2 separate regions of the Homo sapiens genome follow, and region 1 is linked to region 2. The links are contacts of gene promoters, found by promoter capture Hi-C in blood cells and fetal thymus (Javierre and others, 2016). All regions are on one chromosome and are shown on one strand. The core of a region is centred on a gene start or on the middle of the fragment in contact, and the rest is flanking DNA. Distances in the headings are between cores, read along the strand shown. Region 1 has its middle 160 kb from the start of NUP210. Region 2 holds the start of IQSEC1 (IQ motif and Sec7 domain ArfGEF 1).

Region 1 (2,700 bases), core at 49-2,548, 180 kb after region 2:
ATAAAAAAATCTATGACACATCAGATATAATGATATCATATATAATTATATGTAACTACATAATTTTAATTATTTCACAAAGTTGCCTGTTCAGCAAGTACCAACTGTGGTTATAACCCACGGCATCAGCCCCATCCTTATCCCCCACCTGACAGATAAGCAAACTGATTGGAGGGCAGCCCAGTGATTTGCCCAGGGGAACTGGGGTTCCTAAGAGCCACACCCTCCTGAGCTGACCTCACCAACCCCAAAGCAGCCTTCGGGATATCTCACTCAACCAAAGTCACTGAGCAAGCGCTGGGGATGCAGAAGGGACCAGGCAGACAGAAACCCTTCCCTCCGGGACCCCAGGCCATGGTGGGAAGATAGAAAGTGGACCACAGACAGAAACCAAAAGGACAAACTGGAGGACCCGTCAGGTGGCAAACACCATGGAGAGACGCAAAGCACGAGAAGGGGAGAGGGACCCTGGAGGAGAGCAGAGGGAGAGCCTCACCTACCCTGGGGAGAGGGTGCAGCACCAGCAGCGGGTGCAGCACCAGCAGCCAGCGGCCCCTATCTTCCCCTGCTCCCCAACCCAAAAACAGGCCTGGAGCTCTGCCCCATATCCCAGCCAACCCGCTGTGTGTTCACAGACAAGCTCCTTAACCTCTCTGTGCCCAGTTTTCCCTTTTGTAAAAAAGAAAAAATAAAACCTACCTCTGGTGCTGCCATGAGGATTAAGGGAGGCAGCGAGTATAAACTGCTCACCACCCTGCCAGGCACGCAGTGAGGGTCAGGGAGGGCAGCACTTCAGTCCAATCAAGACTACAAGGGAGTCAGGATGGCACAGAGACACACCTCACAGCTCAGGGGCCTCAGGACGAACGTTTCCAAGTGGTCATTCTCACGGGCATGATTTCACATGTAAGCTGCCCCTGAGAAGCTTCCCCAGTGCATGCATATGAGACAGACAGACAGACATTCTCCAGAAGACATAACATTCCGGCTAGGCAGGACGTTCCCAAGGACACCCAGTTTCTCAGCCCACACTGAACCCCACGCTGTGGGTCCCACATTTGGTGACCTCGCTAGGCTCCCTCACATGGCCCTCCTAGCTGAGTTGAACACATCAGCATCACCCCCAACCAGACTAACCCTGGCTGGTGCTCATTGCACTGCCCCAGCCCTTCCCGCCCCCGCCTGGTGCAGTCCACGAAGCCTCAGGGAGACTCGGGACATCTTCCTCGTTTGAGCTCACTTGAGACCACTCAGTTTGGGTAGGGCTCCGCACCCTGCAGCTGGTCTGAGAAATGGGGTGGGGCACTACAGCCTGTGAAATCCTCTGAACCCGGAGCCCCTTAAAGGGGTCCAAAATCTAGAAGCCCAGGAATTAAAAACGGCACAGCCACTTTGGAAGACAGTTTGGCAGCTTCTTACAAAACTACATACGCCCCTGCCACACGGCCCAGCAATCACACTCCTTGCTGTTTACTTAAGGGAGCTGAAAATGTATGTCCACACAAAAACCTACACATGGGTGTTTATAGCAGCTTCATTCATGACTGTCAAAACTTAGACACAACCAAGATGTCCCTCAGCAGGTGAATGGATAAACTGTGCTACATCCAGACAATGGAATATTATTCAGTGCTAAAAAGAAATGTGCTATCAACCATAAAAAGCCATGGAGGAAGCTTCAATGCATATGACTAAGTGAAAGAAGGTGACCTGGAGGGAGAGAGGGATGAACAGGCAGAGCACAGAGGATTTTGCGGGGGGCGGGGGCAGAAACACTGCTCTGTGTGATGCCACAATGGCAGAACAAGCCCGTGGTGAACCATGAACTATGGGTAATAATGATGTGTCAAAGTGGGTTCATCCATTGCGGCAGATGTGCCACACTAATGCAAGATAATAATGGAGGGAACAGGGACGGCAGGAGCATGGGAACTCACTGTACTTACTGCTCAATTTTTCTGTAAACCTAAAGTGCTCTAAAAGTAAAGACTATTAACAAACAGCAACAACAACAACAAAAAACCTTTTAAAAAATCTAGAACTCAGGGCCAGGTGTGATGGCTCACACTTGTAATCCTCCCACTTTGGAAGGCCGAGATGGGAGGATCACTGGAGCCTAGGAGTTCCAGACCAGCCTGGGCAACATAGTGAGATCCCATCTCTAGAAAATTATTTTAAAAAAATTAGCCGGACATGGTGGTATGTGCCTGTAGTCCCAGCCACTCAGGAGGCTGAGGTGGGAGGATCACTTGAGCGCAGGAAATCGAGGCTGCAGTGAGCTATGATTGTGCCACTGCAATCCAGCCTGGGCAACAGCATGAGATCCTGAAAATAAAGATTAAATAAATAAATAAGTAAAAATAAAAATAAATCTAGAACCCAGAGAAGATAATGGAATGCAGCCAGTGAGGAGCACAACCAGCTGGGAAAAAGCAGCCTCTCACGCTGCGAATCGCACCCTCGCCCCCCTCCCCACCCCACAGGGGCTGGCACCAGTAACCTCCAGGAACCTAGGGAACCCCAGGATTCCACAGCATCACCCACTCCATCTGGGATTCTGGCAGGTGTTGCCTCACAACGGCCCCCAAGTCTGGGCTCTGCCACCTCCATCCCCTTCCCTGGCCCAAGACCTATCATCTTTCCCCTGGGCCTCAGCACAGCCCCTACCCTCTTTCCCTATAGTCTATCTCACACCATGGC
Region 2 (2,710 bases), core at 34-2,533:
GTCTGAGGTCACTGCACAGCCCCAAATGAGTGGGTCCTGGGCAAATAGTTTAGGCAGGTGGAGACCTGACGCTGGGCCTCAACCCCCGCAGCCGAGGGTCCCAGAGGAGGGCAAAGGTTGCTCCTCCTAGAACAGCACAGTGCAGCGCCCAGAGAGCTGTGAGGGAAGCTGGCATTCGAACCCCACTGCCCCCTGGGAAGCCTGGCTAACCGAAGCGCAGGCTTTGGTTTCCATAAATACCCGGGCCCGTGATGTCACCGCCCCGTGCAGACTTTCACAGCCTCTGCTGCTGGCGTGAGGCCCAGCACACAGCCGCTCTGCTGCCAGCCCACAGAACACCTGGGCACACAGCTGGACACTGATGCCTCCGTGCTAGGGACGGTGGGCTGGACCTTCACCTGCCCTTGGAGGACGCAGCATCCTGGCCACTGCCTCAGCCTGCCTGCGACCTTCTATCAGGCATGGCTGAAGGGCTGGCCATGGGCGTGCTGGGCAGAGATTCTCTTCCTAAACAGGCTATGGGCTAAACCAAAGCCAAAACAGTAGGAGCCGGTCTGGGCACCCTGAATGTGGATCTGGGAGGGGGGATACCTGCTCTCACAGTTGGGAATTTCACAGCCTGCTGAAGACCTGCTGACTAATAGCCTTTTTCTCATCGTCATCACCAACAAACACCTCCGCTGCAGGGGCCGAGCGCCGGCATCCCTGCTGGGTGGCCAGCTCCCTCTGCAAGTCACCTGCACATCCACCTGCCCCTCCCCCAACGATGCCCCTCACTCCAGCTCCCAGCTCAGCCGGGCCCCTCTGGCCTCTGGCTTCAGGCAGAAACCTGCCACATATACTCACAAATAGCGTCTTCTGCAAGCCATCCTGTGTGAATCCGTTCTTCCCTGTTCTGGCTCCCTCTCCAGCGGGGAGGCTCAACGTGTTTCCAAGAGGAGCAGGCGGCTCAGGCAAGAAGTGGAGGGGAATAAAATTAAATCGCGGGGCGAGTCACATTCCCGGGGGTGGCGGGCTCCTCCAGGGAGGCTGGGGCGGGAGCGGGGGGCGGCGCCAGCAGCGGGCTGTGGAGGGCCCTGGCACGTAGCGCGCGCTCACACCGTGCCCAGGAGCGAGCGAGGACGTCGAGTAACCGTGGTCGCCAGGCTGGGCGGGGGCGTCCACCTCGCTGCTACCTGGGCCCACCTTGGGGTTTTTCCCTCCCGTCCATCCGGGGTGCGGGGCGCGGGGATGAGGAGGGGAGGGTCGAGAGAAGGCTGCCCCGGGTTTGCTCTCGCAGCATCCGGAGAAGGGGCGGGCGCGCCGGAGCCTCCCCCACCCCCCGCGCCCAAGGAGCAACGTAGTGCGGCCGCGCCGGACCAATCGCCGAGGCGCTGGTCGCCATGGCAACAGCAGCATCAGGCGCGGCCGCTCGGCTGCGCCCTCGCGGCAAAGTCACACACCCGGCGGGGCGCGGGGCGCCGGCCCCTTCCTGGCCCGCGCTGGAAACCTGGAAGTCTGTTGCTAAAATGCACGCGCCGCGCGGAGCCTACGATGACACTACTTTCCAAGGCGGCTTTTCTGCCTTCGGCACTGAGACACGCGAGCCGCGGAGCTCTCGGGGCTCTGGCCCTGGAGTGAGGCCGGCCGACTCCAAGGCTGTCTCTGCCACTGAAGGGCGATGAGACCTTGGCAAGCCGCGTCTCTCCTGGGAGTCTTGATTATGCTACTGTGAAAGGGATCATAACAGCTATACCACGGGGTTCCAGGAGGGCGCACCACGCCAGTAGCTGCACGGTGGATGGCAGAGCAGTCCTCGTTTGTGCCAGTCCTGTCCCAAAGGGGGCTGCACGTGGCTAGGGAGAATTTCTGGTCTAGCTATGGTGCCTCTTCCTCTCCCGAGGACCTTCCATGTGCCGGGCAAGTATCTGCCCTCATGATGTTTACAGTCTAAGGGGAAGCCAGGAAGTAAGTGTGCAGATATAGGATTGCACGTGGTGATAAGGATCAGGATGAAAAGAGAGCAGGAAGAGGGGAGGCAGGGACCCCAAGAGAGGCGGGAAGGAGGCTTCTGCCATCAGACGGGGTGGTCGGGAAGGCCCTCTGTGAGGCACGTGTGGCTGAGACTCGGATGACGCAAGAAGCAGGGGAGGAGCTGGCGTCAAGGCTCTGAGGCGGAAGGCAGCCTGGTGTATTTGACTGGCCCAGAGGAGGCCAGCGTGGTGCAGTGTGCGACAGGGAGGTGGAGGGGAGAAGCGCACATCCATCCTCGGCTCCCACACCCGCCTTTCCCACACAGATTTCTCTCTTCCTGTCTGATGTTCATCTGATCCTCTCTGCTTCCTCATCTGTAAACCAGGAATCCCAGACCTATCTCAGAGGCATGTAGATAATATTCTTCCGTGCACGGTAATCCTCAAGACAACCCCAATGAGGCCTAATACTATCATCCTACTTCACGGGGGAGCGCATTAAAGCCAGAGGTTCAGCAACTGGCCCAAGCCACATAGCTGGCGGGCAGTCTGGCTCCAGAGTCTTGGTTCTTGACTGCTTGAAAGCTGCCTCACTGGGAGGAATAAATGAGAGAGGGAGTAGTTGAGACTGGGAATCGGCTGGATGTGGATGGCAGCCCACAGGGCCATTTCCCTTCCTCTTTCCATTCTCTCCAGATTCACACTCACCGAATTTAGAAGGAGTGATGCTGCATCCTTGAGTTCCATTCCATCCTTTA

What was found. Contacts are between HindIII fragments. The CHiCAGO score rates a contact against its expected background, and 5 or more counts as called.
Region 1: a contact is called between a fragment that was not itself captured here and the fragment with the promoter of IQSEC1 in region 2, in 2 of 17 cell types (naive B cells and total B cells). The highest score is 5.7, in naive B cells.

What each region holds. Positions count from the first base shown.
Region 1 is chr3:13,256,354-13,259,053 of GRCh38, forward strand. It overlaps a transcript of IQSEC1 not described here. Among named protein-coding and RNA genes, the nearest start is that of NUP210, 160 kb to the right of the region's middle. RefSeq lists enhancers at 365-865, 866-1,366. The HindIII fragment of the contact is 751 bases long and covers 924-1,674 here.
Region 2 is chr3:13,072,146-13,074,855 of GRCh38, forward strand. It overlaps IQSEC1 (IQ motif and Sec7 domain ArfGEF 1), which reads right to left and starts at 1,284. Exons shown (of 14, transcript NM_001134382.3): 1 at 847-1,284. The coding sequence starts at 869. RefSeq lists silencers at 1,200-1,359, 1,480-1,659. The HindIII fragment of the contact is 20,266 bases long and covers 1-2,710 here.